Linked DNA regions of Homo sapiens: region 2 is linked to region 1. Evidence: promoter capture Hi-C in 16 types of primary human blood cells and fetal thymus (Javierre and others, 2016). All regions are on one chromosome and are shown on one strand. Each heading gives the region's core, a stretch centred on a gene start or on the middle of the fragment in contact. The rest is flanking DNA. Distances are from core to core; before and after follow the strand shown. Region 1 holds the start of DLG2 (discs large MAGUK scaffold protein 2). Region 2 holds the start of ME3 (malic enzyme 3).

Region 1 (3,727 bases), core at 1-2,500:
TGACTTGCCGGTGGGCGGGGACCCAGAACGCCCTGGGCGGGAAGTGGTGCTGATTTACGGCTCAACGCCTCTCGATTGCAGCCCGGGCCCGCCCCCACTCAGTCAAAAGCCGCGCCCTCCATCCTGACTGTGATTGGGCGCGGCGTCTAGAAATTACGGCCACTTATTCGCTTAGAGGAGGTCCAGGCGCCTGTGGGCCTGCCCCCCTCGCCAGCCGAGTATTTCCTTCCCTGACTATTTATCAGCTTAGCTCCCTGATCTCTTCGCGTCCTGCGGGAAAGATGGGGCGGCCCGAATGTTGTAATGTTACTGCGCTCCTGCCTCTCCTCAGGGCAGCTGGGAACTAGCTGCCTGCCCCTTTCAGTCCTTGAGGGAACTCGCCCCTTTGCCCTGGCCTGTGTGGTGTTAAAGCTCTGTTTCTCGGGCACCTCCTCCTCCAAACCCCGGACCAGCCGCCCAGCGCCGTCAGAGCAGCCCCGACTAGCCTCCTCTCCTCTCAGCCGTCTGACTCCTCTCCCCAGTCTGTAGTCCCCTCAATTTGCATCCTTTAGCCCCGCTTGGAAAGAGACCGGAGAGAAATTTGCCCACTACCCCCGCGAGAAGACCCACTTGTCAGCCGTGTCTCGGGGTGGGGGGCACTGCAAGGCCTGGCGCTGTTTTGTGCACGTTAAATGCCCAGCAGTATCTCCCAGACCGGCAACCCCCGACCCTCCAGTCTCCATGTCTTACAGAAGCCAAATTCGAGAGTTATATAATTTCTAGTGCTGCTGTTGCTCCTGCCTGAGGAAACACTTCATCGCGTGGAGGGTGCAGGACATTTCAGTGCTCTTCCCTAAAAGAACGGGGCTTGGGCAGGGGTGGCCAGCGGTGGCAAAGAAATGTCTTGTCTTTTCTGCAAAAGGAAGGTGGGTAGTTTGAAGAGAGATTGAGAGAAAAGGTGGATGTGAAAGCCAAGCAGCTGCACTTTCTCATTTAGGAAATCGCGGACCGTTTACATAGCTTATGCTTACATGTCTAATACTACTACGGCGTCTCTGAAAACACCTTTGGGGGAAGGTTTGGCTTCTCTCGAAGTCTCAGTGTTTTTCCTCGCCGGATAGGGAGCTGCTTGAATGCGAAGAGATGGCATGATGTGAATGACTCCAGTGTGAAGAAATCTGCTTCGCCAACTCATCCTGCATCAAGTGCCCATTGAGTAGCACTGTCACTTTAATGTCTCCATGCCAAGGGATTGCTTTCCTTTTTTTTCAATCCTCTCGGTTAATACATGGGAGGATCAGAATCAGAGGGGCATTAAGGATCAAGCCTGGGGGCTTGGAGAGCACAGAAGAAAAAAATGAAAGGGACAGCAAGCTGGATTCTGAGTTACTGAGGGGGTGAGATCCGGAACTTCTGATCAGTAAATATAAGGGGGCCTTTCAATGTGTGTTCTGCCACAGAAAACTGTTCAAACTCACCTATCTTTTTAGAGACTGGAGTCAAAGAGATTTTTAAAAGTATTTTTGGGGAGGTGGGGTTACATTTTTCTCTACAGATTTGAGTATCTTTATCATCATCTTTGAATTTGACCATGTATAAAGTAATGAGACCTGTCTAAATTTGGTTTGTGCCTTAATTGAGTTAGTCATTGAACTTCCAAAAATGTTGCTGCCTGAAGAGGAATTTCAGTAACGTTCTTCATGTTTACAATAATTTTCCCAGTTTGTAAAAACAGTCTAAATATTTTCTGAAAATTGAAAAACTTGAAAAACTAAAAAATTACGTTGCTGTAAACTCTGTGGGCGGTGTAAAAAGTTTAGTTGTGGAAAAAATACATCATTATTTTCTTTGTCTGACATAGAAGACTCAGCCTGGATTTCAAAACTGAACACTGAAGTGGTTTGCAACAGTTACCTGGCTCTTGGCCTCAATCCAGCTGGATCAAACTGAGACCTGAAAAGAGATATTGACTCCTGTGGCAGTGGAAAGACCCAAGAATGCCAGTCAAGAAGACAGGTGGGCCATAAGGTTGCTATATAATATTTCTCCCTTTTGTTGGTTCTGGTACTTGTAATTTAAATTATATTCCATTTGAGAGTAAAGTTTTGCTTCAGTTTGGGGGAAATATTTATTGTAATATAGTTTCAGTGGTACATAATTCAGTAATATTATTTTACTAAAGTAAAAGGAAGCAAGACTATAGTATTTATTGATAGATATTTATGATTTCATAAATCAGGTTGTTTATATCACCGTTGGTAATAAGAATAGATTCAGTACCGCAGATTTGGAGTCTCCTTTAGCTTGTTTTCTTAGCTTGTTGAAGGTTACTTTTAAGCAGTCTTTAAAAAAGAAACTTGTGCAGTGGAGCTCTTCCTCATGGGTTTAATATTTATCAAACTAATTACAGAATTGTGAAAGGTAGCAAAGTAATTTCATTTGCACTGAACAAAATTACAGCTTTATAATTTATCTTTTGGTTAAAAAATAGACTTATTATTTGGATTTATTCTAGTGTAAATCTTCACTTTTGTGATAAAGCACAACTTTCGTGACTATTGTGCTTTTCCAGATATATGCATTATCCAATAACATGATTGTCAAGTTCCCCAAATGGGGCAAACACCTGTTTTTTTCCTCCCTCCTCAACAACTTTTATTATTGGAATTGATCAAGATCTAGTGAATTCCTGAAGCATAGTTGATTATATTCTGAACTTGGGGATTCAGTTTAGCTTAGATGCACCCCAGGTTAACTTTGTTCCAAAGGATCCTAGTTTGGGACTGTTTTTGTTTTGTTTTGTTTTGACATTATATGGAAGGTGAGATCAACTGTAAAGAGTTTCTCAAGAGTTTTGAATCAAAACTTATATGAACAGCCTTGAACTCTGCTATACTGGACTAATATAGATCCAAATGTTGTCCAGTTATGTGAGTTGCTACAATCTGAAACTAAAGCTCTGGGTGAATTGCAGGTTAAAGTGGAACTTATCTCTGCATGGTGTTTAATTCTTCTACCTGTGGATTTGTTAGGGATGTTGAGGAAACTTATAATCACTGAGATGCCTTATCCAAGCTGATATTTGTAGAGATGGACAATGATATATAAAACTTTTGGAACACCTAGAACTGTGATATTTGCACACTGGGATTTAAGATTGGGATTGTTTCCTCCCCCTGCTGTTTCTAATAATACCACTGACAGAAGTAAACTGCCTGAGATTTTGGAGCCACACTTGTCCAGACCAGACACAATTGGTTTATCTAGAACAAGAATGGTTTTGGGAATGTAGCCAATAAATGATATGGCTCTTTGACATATTTAAGTTGATGTGTGTTTTTATTCTTTCTACCATTTCTCTAGAGAGTTTCTTTTGGATTACCTTATTTTGAACTAATAATGGAATTAAACACATTACGTGTGTGTGTGAGAGAGAGAGAGACAGAGAGGAAAAGAGTGAAAGGAAGAGAGAATGGGAAGGAGGAGAGACAGAGAAAGAGATAAAAAGGTATGTGGGAAGGAAGAGGAGGAAGGTCAATTGATATTCTAGGTATAACTTAACTAAGCAGGTTTAGTTAGAAAGTTTAGAACTTAATGTTTCTAAACCCCATAAACCGAGTTTCTTAAAAGTTCTTCCCTTTAAAGAACTGTTACAGAAATTGCTGATACATTGGTGAAATTATAATACTTTAGAAGAATTTCCTTTCTTTCCTTCTTCCTCTCTTCCTTTGCCTCCCTCCTTCCCTTT
Region 2 (3,813 bases), core at 38-2,537, 1.0 Mb before region 1:
GTAATTGTAATTCTGTTTTGGAAATAACTATTTTACGTAGATCATTCAAGTTGAAAATTAGATATTACACAGGGAGGAGAGAGACTGCAGGAGGAGACGATTATTCCTGAAGGGATGAGGGAATCCTGAACTCAGGCAGGAGCACCCCTTAGCACATTATGGGCCATGATGTCTGCTTGGTACTTACAACGGGGCTAATGCTGGCACCGGGAGCTTTGAAGGGGTGTCAGCAGAGGACCGTGCCAACTGTCTGTCAGTAAGTCTAAGGGTTCACGATCCTTATGAAAGTGGCTGCCACTTCCCTTCACCTAACAACTATTTATTGTGCAACTACATACCAGGCAGTGAGCTAGGCAGTGAGGACACACAGGTTCACAGGCAAAGAGCCTCTCTTCATGAAGCTTACATTCTAGACAGGAGATAGTCAGTAAACAATCAGAAAAACAAGCGCGCTACTGACTGTGTTAAGTTCTCTAAAGAGAAAAACCCCTTCACTCTATAGTTCCTAGTGCAGGCTGACATTGAATGGGATAGAGGAAAGGCCTTCGAGTTGACAACTTAGTGGAGAACTGAGAGGTGGGAATGAAGTAGTGGTTTGCAAGGCTGGAGTATGAGCCTTCCAAGGAGAGGCAATAGCAAGTGCAAAGGCCCTGCAGTGGGAGGGAACCAAGTGGGGTGAAGACACAGGAAGGATCAAGTATGGCCAGAGATCAGTGAGAAGGAAAGAGTAGAGTAGGATAAGTCTGAAGAGGCTGGCAAGAGCCAGTTTATGGGAAATCTTGTAGGCCCTGAAAGTTTGGATTTTATTCCACACACAACAAAGTGTTTGCTTTAAAAGGAATCTCCTGACTACTGTGTGGAGAAAGTATAAAATTAAGTTTGGGGCTAGATGGACCCCAAGATCCCTGTCTGGCCCCAATAACCCATGGCAAACTCCATGGGGTCCTCAGAAGTCCTCTTAGTAACTGTGGCTCCTATGTCAATGATGCTTAATAGAAGTATCCGCAAAAACAGAAATGTTCTGTATCTGCATACAAGTGGCTCTTGAACTGGAAATGTGGCTAGCGTGACTGCAGAACTGGATGTTAAATTTTATTCTATATAGACTAATTTATTTACGTTTATATAGCCACACGTGGCGAATGGCTATTATATTGGACAGCACAAGGCAACACTGAGCACCGAATGCCTGAGGATTTCTACTCCAAATCCTGAAGGCACGCCCTTCCCCGAATGTTGGGAGAGTGCGAGGATATGCTGACCCCCAAACGCAAATCCCCCTCTGTGCATTTAGTCTTGCCAAGATGGAGAGTCTCAGGCGGGCATTCTGAGCTGCTTCTTGTCACTGGGGAAAACCACGTGCACGCAGTGCTGAGGCGCCCCACGCGCGTCCTCAGGGGAAGCCAGGCACTGAGAACAAAGGTTGTGGGACCGCTCTTTGAGGAACTCACCAGCTCCGCGAGCTCGCGGCCGCCAGCGCGGTCCACCCATTGGCGGGAGAGGACTCACAGACCGCAGCTCCTCACCCCGCCTGCTCCGCAGCGGGACCGCGTAGACCTCAGCTCCCCGAGCAGCGCAGGTGGGCCAGGGAAGGAGAGGACCGAGGCAAGCCACCACGCGGGATTAGGGGTACGGGGACCCCTCGCCGCGCAGTCGCCTCTTTTTCACAGGGATGGGGGCAGGGGTGGCGCCGGCTGTCACCCGCACCGGATCTGCTTCCAGGGCTTGGTTTCGCTTTGCCTGGCTCTTGGCTAGGCCTGGCGCCCCGCGCGGAGCCGAGCAGGTGGCAGCCGAGGAGTGGCGGGGGCTGGAACATTTAACCCTTTGGGAGCACCTGCCCTCTCCCAGAGGGCGCGTCCCCGGATCAGGCCCGGTGCCCCGCAGCGCGCGTGGGTCCTGGCTGGCTGGAAGGAGGCCCTGACCTTGCTTTCTCTCCCGTGCCAGGTCTGCCAAGGACCATGGGTGCCGCGCTGGGGACAGGCACGCGGCTGGCTCCCTGGCCGGGCCGGGCCTGCGGCGCCCTCCCGCGCTGGACACCCACCGCGCCCGCCCAAGGCTGCCACTCCAAGCCTGGCCCGGCGCGCCCTGTGCCCCTGAAGAAGCGCGGATACGATGTCACCAGGAACCCTCATCTCAACAAGGTAATGGGCCAGAGGGCAGGACGGCCCGCGTTGCGATCCCGTGGCTGCCGGAAAATTGCGCCCCGCCCCCTGGACCCAGAAAGGATCCTCCCGGGCGCCCTTCCAGCGGTTTTTCTGTTTTTGCCTTGCAGGGGCTTGTTGTGACTTGGTTTGGCTTTCTTGTCCCTCCTCTCCCTTTTATGCGTGGAGAGAGGCGACCAGTAATGCAGGGAGCCTAATTTCTTCTGCAGTAACAACACAGACCAGGTTTAGATCCTCGCGGTCAGTCTGACCTGCGGTCAGCTCTCCCCTTGATGCTTACTAATTTTATTGGTCTTGGGCAGTTCATTTAACCTACATGAGCCTAGGTTTCCTTATCTGTAAAAGAGATATAATTGTCTTAGGAATGTCGTGAGATCTAAAGAGAAAATGCGGGTAGAAAATGGGGGTACGTTAGAACAGTGCCTGGTACCCAGTGGGAGAATAAATAAGGTTATGATTATTATTCTGAGAAAAAGATTAATTTGAGAGCAAGGATGGAAAAGTCTAGACTTATAGAAATTTTCGAGCTTGCAGGAGCATTAGAGATCCTAGTTTAAACCTCTTCTTTTACAAAAAACAAGACAAAGGAAACTTGCCCAAGGTCACCAGCTAGTTAGTTCTGGCTCTGCCACTGGAATCCAGATCTCCAATGCTTTGGTCGAGTTCAACCCACCGCTAGCTCTTTTGTATTTGTTTTTGGGAATAGAGTTTAGTATCTTTGGTTCAGAGGATTGGGTGAGAGAAATAGAAGCAAGGACAGATTTAGTCCTGTCTCCCCCTACCTCCTCAAATTAACTCACATATCTCATTTAACTTATCTGAGGCCCAACTTTCTCCAGCCTAAAATAGATATTATGATAGACCCACCATTTCTATCTCATTTGGTTATTGTGACAATAAAATGAATCACTGAACTTGAAATCATATTTTAAACTGTATAAAGTGCTGAATAACAATTACTGCAAAATAAATTTTTTTTTCATAATTGCTCTGACTCTGGATTGTGAAATTCAGGTGAGGCAGTCTGTATGGAAAAGATGTTTTTGAGAAGTAGGAACAACTATATAATGTGAAGTATTGTGACTGTTTCCTACAGAACTAATAGAAGCGGCTAAGGAAAAAAAAATCAAAATCAACCTCTATCACATTGGAGTCCTGCTCTTTCCAAAAGAAACCTTAAATTGTTTGGACGCTACCACTTTCCAAAGTGTTCAAGGTGTTTGTTATCACCTTGAATTACTTTGCTAGTAAGCGTTAGAAAATACAAACTGGCTTAAGCACACAAAGGCTCCTTTATCTAAAGAATCTAGAGGAAGGGTTGCAGGCACGGCTTGAACCACAAGCCCAGATGGCATTGCTCAAGATGCAGATTCTCTCTGGCTCTCTACTCTGCCTCTCTGCAAGGTCAGTTTCATCCTCAAGCTCTATTCAGTGAAGTCTCTCACTTCGTTATTGCCACAGTCCTCCATCTCCTGTTCTCACACCACATCATCCAGGAATAGAAAGATACTTTTATTCTGGTAGCTCTTGGGGAAGAGAAAATACCCTTTCTCTGACGCCTCAGAAAGCGAATCCTTCTGCCTTATTGACTCTGATTAGATTCTCTCTTCCCATTCCCAAACCAAAACCAATCACCAGTAATTAAAGCCGG

Evidence for each region. The method cuts DNA at HindIII sites, captures the fragments that hold promoters and counts their contacts. A CHiCAGO score of 5 or more calls a contact.
Region 2: the fragment with the promoter of ME3 here is called in contact with the fragment with the promoter of DLG2 in region 1 in 1 of 17 cell types (monocytes); the score reaches 7.4 in monocytes.

What each region holds. Positions count from the first base shown.
Region 1 is chr11:85,624,867-85,628,593 of GRCh38, reverse strand. It overlaps DLG2 (discs large MAGUK scaffold protein 2), which reads left to right and starts at 1,250. Exons shown (of 28, transcript NM_001142699.3): 1 at 1,250-1,376; 2 at 1,841-2,007. TMEM126B (transmembrane protein 126B) reads right to left here and starts at 1. Exons shown (of 5, transcript NM_018480.7): 1 at 1. RefSeq lists enhancers at 204-393, 534-583, 664-823, 696-1,204 and a silencer at 3,143-3,343. The HindIII fragment of the contact is 9,013 bases long and covers 1-3,727 here.
Region 2 is chr11:86,670,090-86,673,902 of GRCh38, reverse strand. ME3 (malic enzyme 3) reads left to right here and starts at 1,287. Exons shown (of 15, transcript NM_001161586.3): 1 at 1,287-1,579; 2 at 1,945-2,141. The coding sequence starts at 1,959. The HindIII fragment of the contact is 7,449 bases long and covers 404-3,813 here.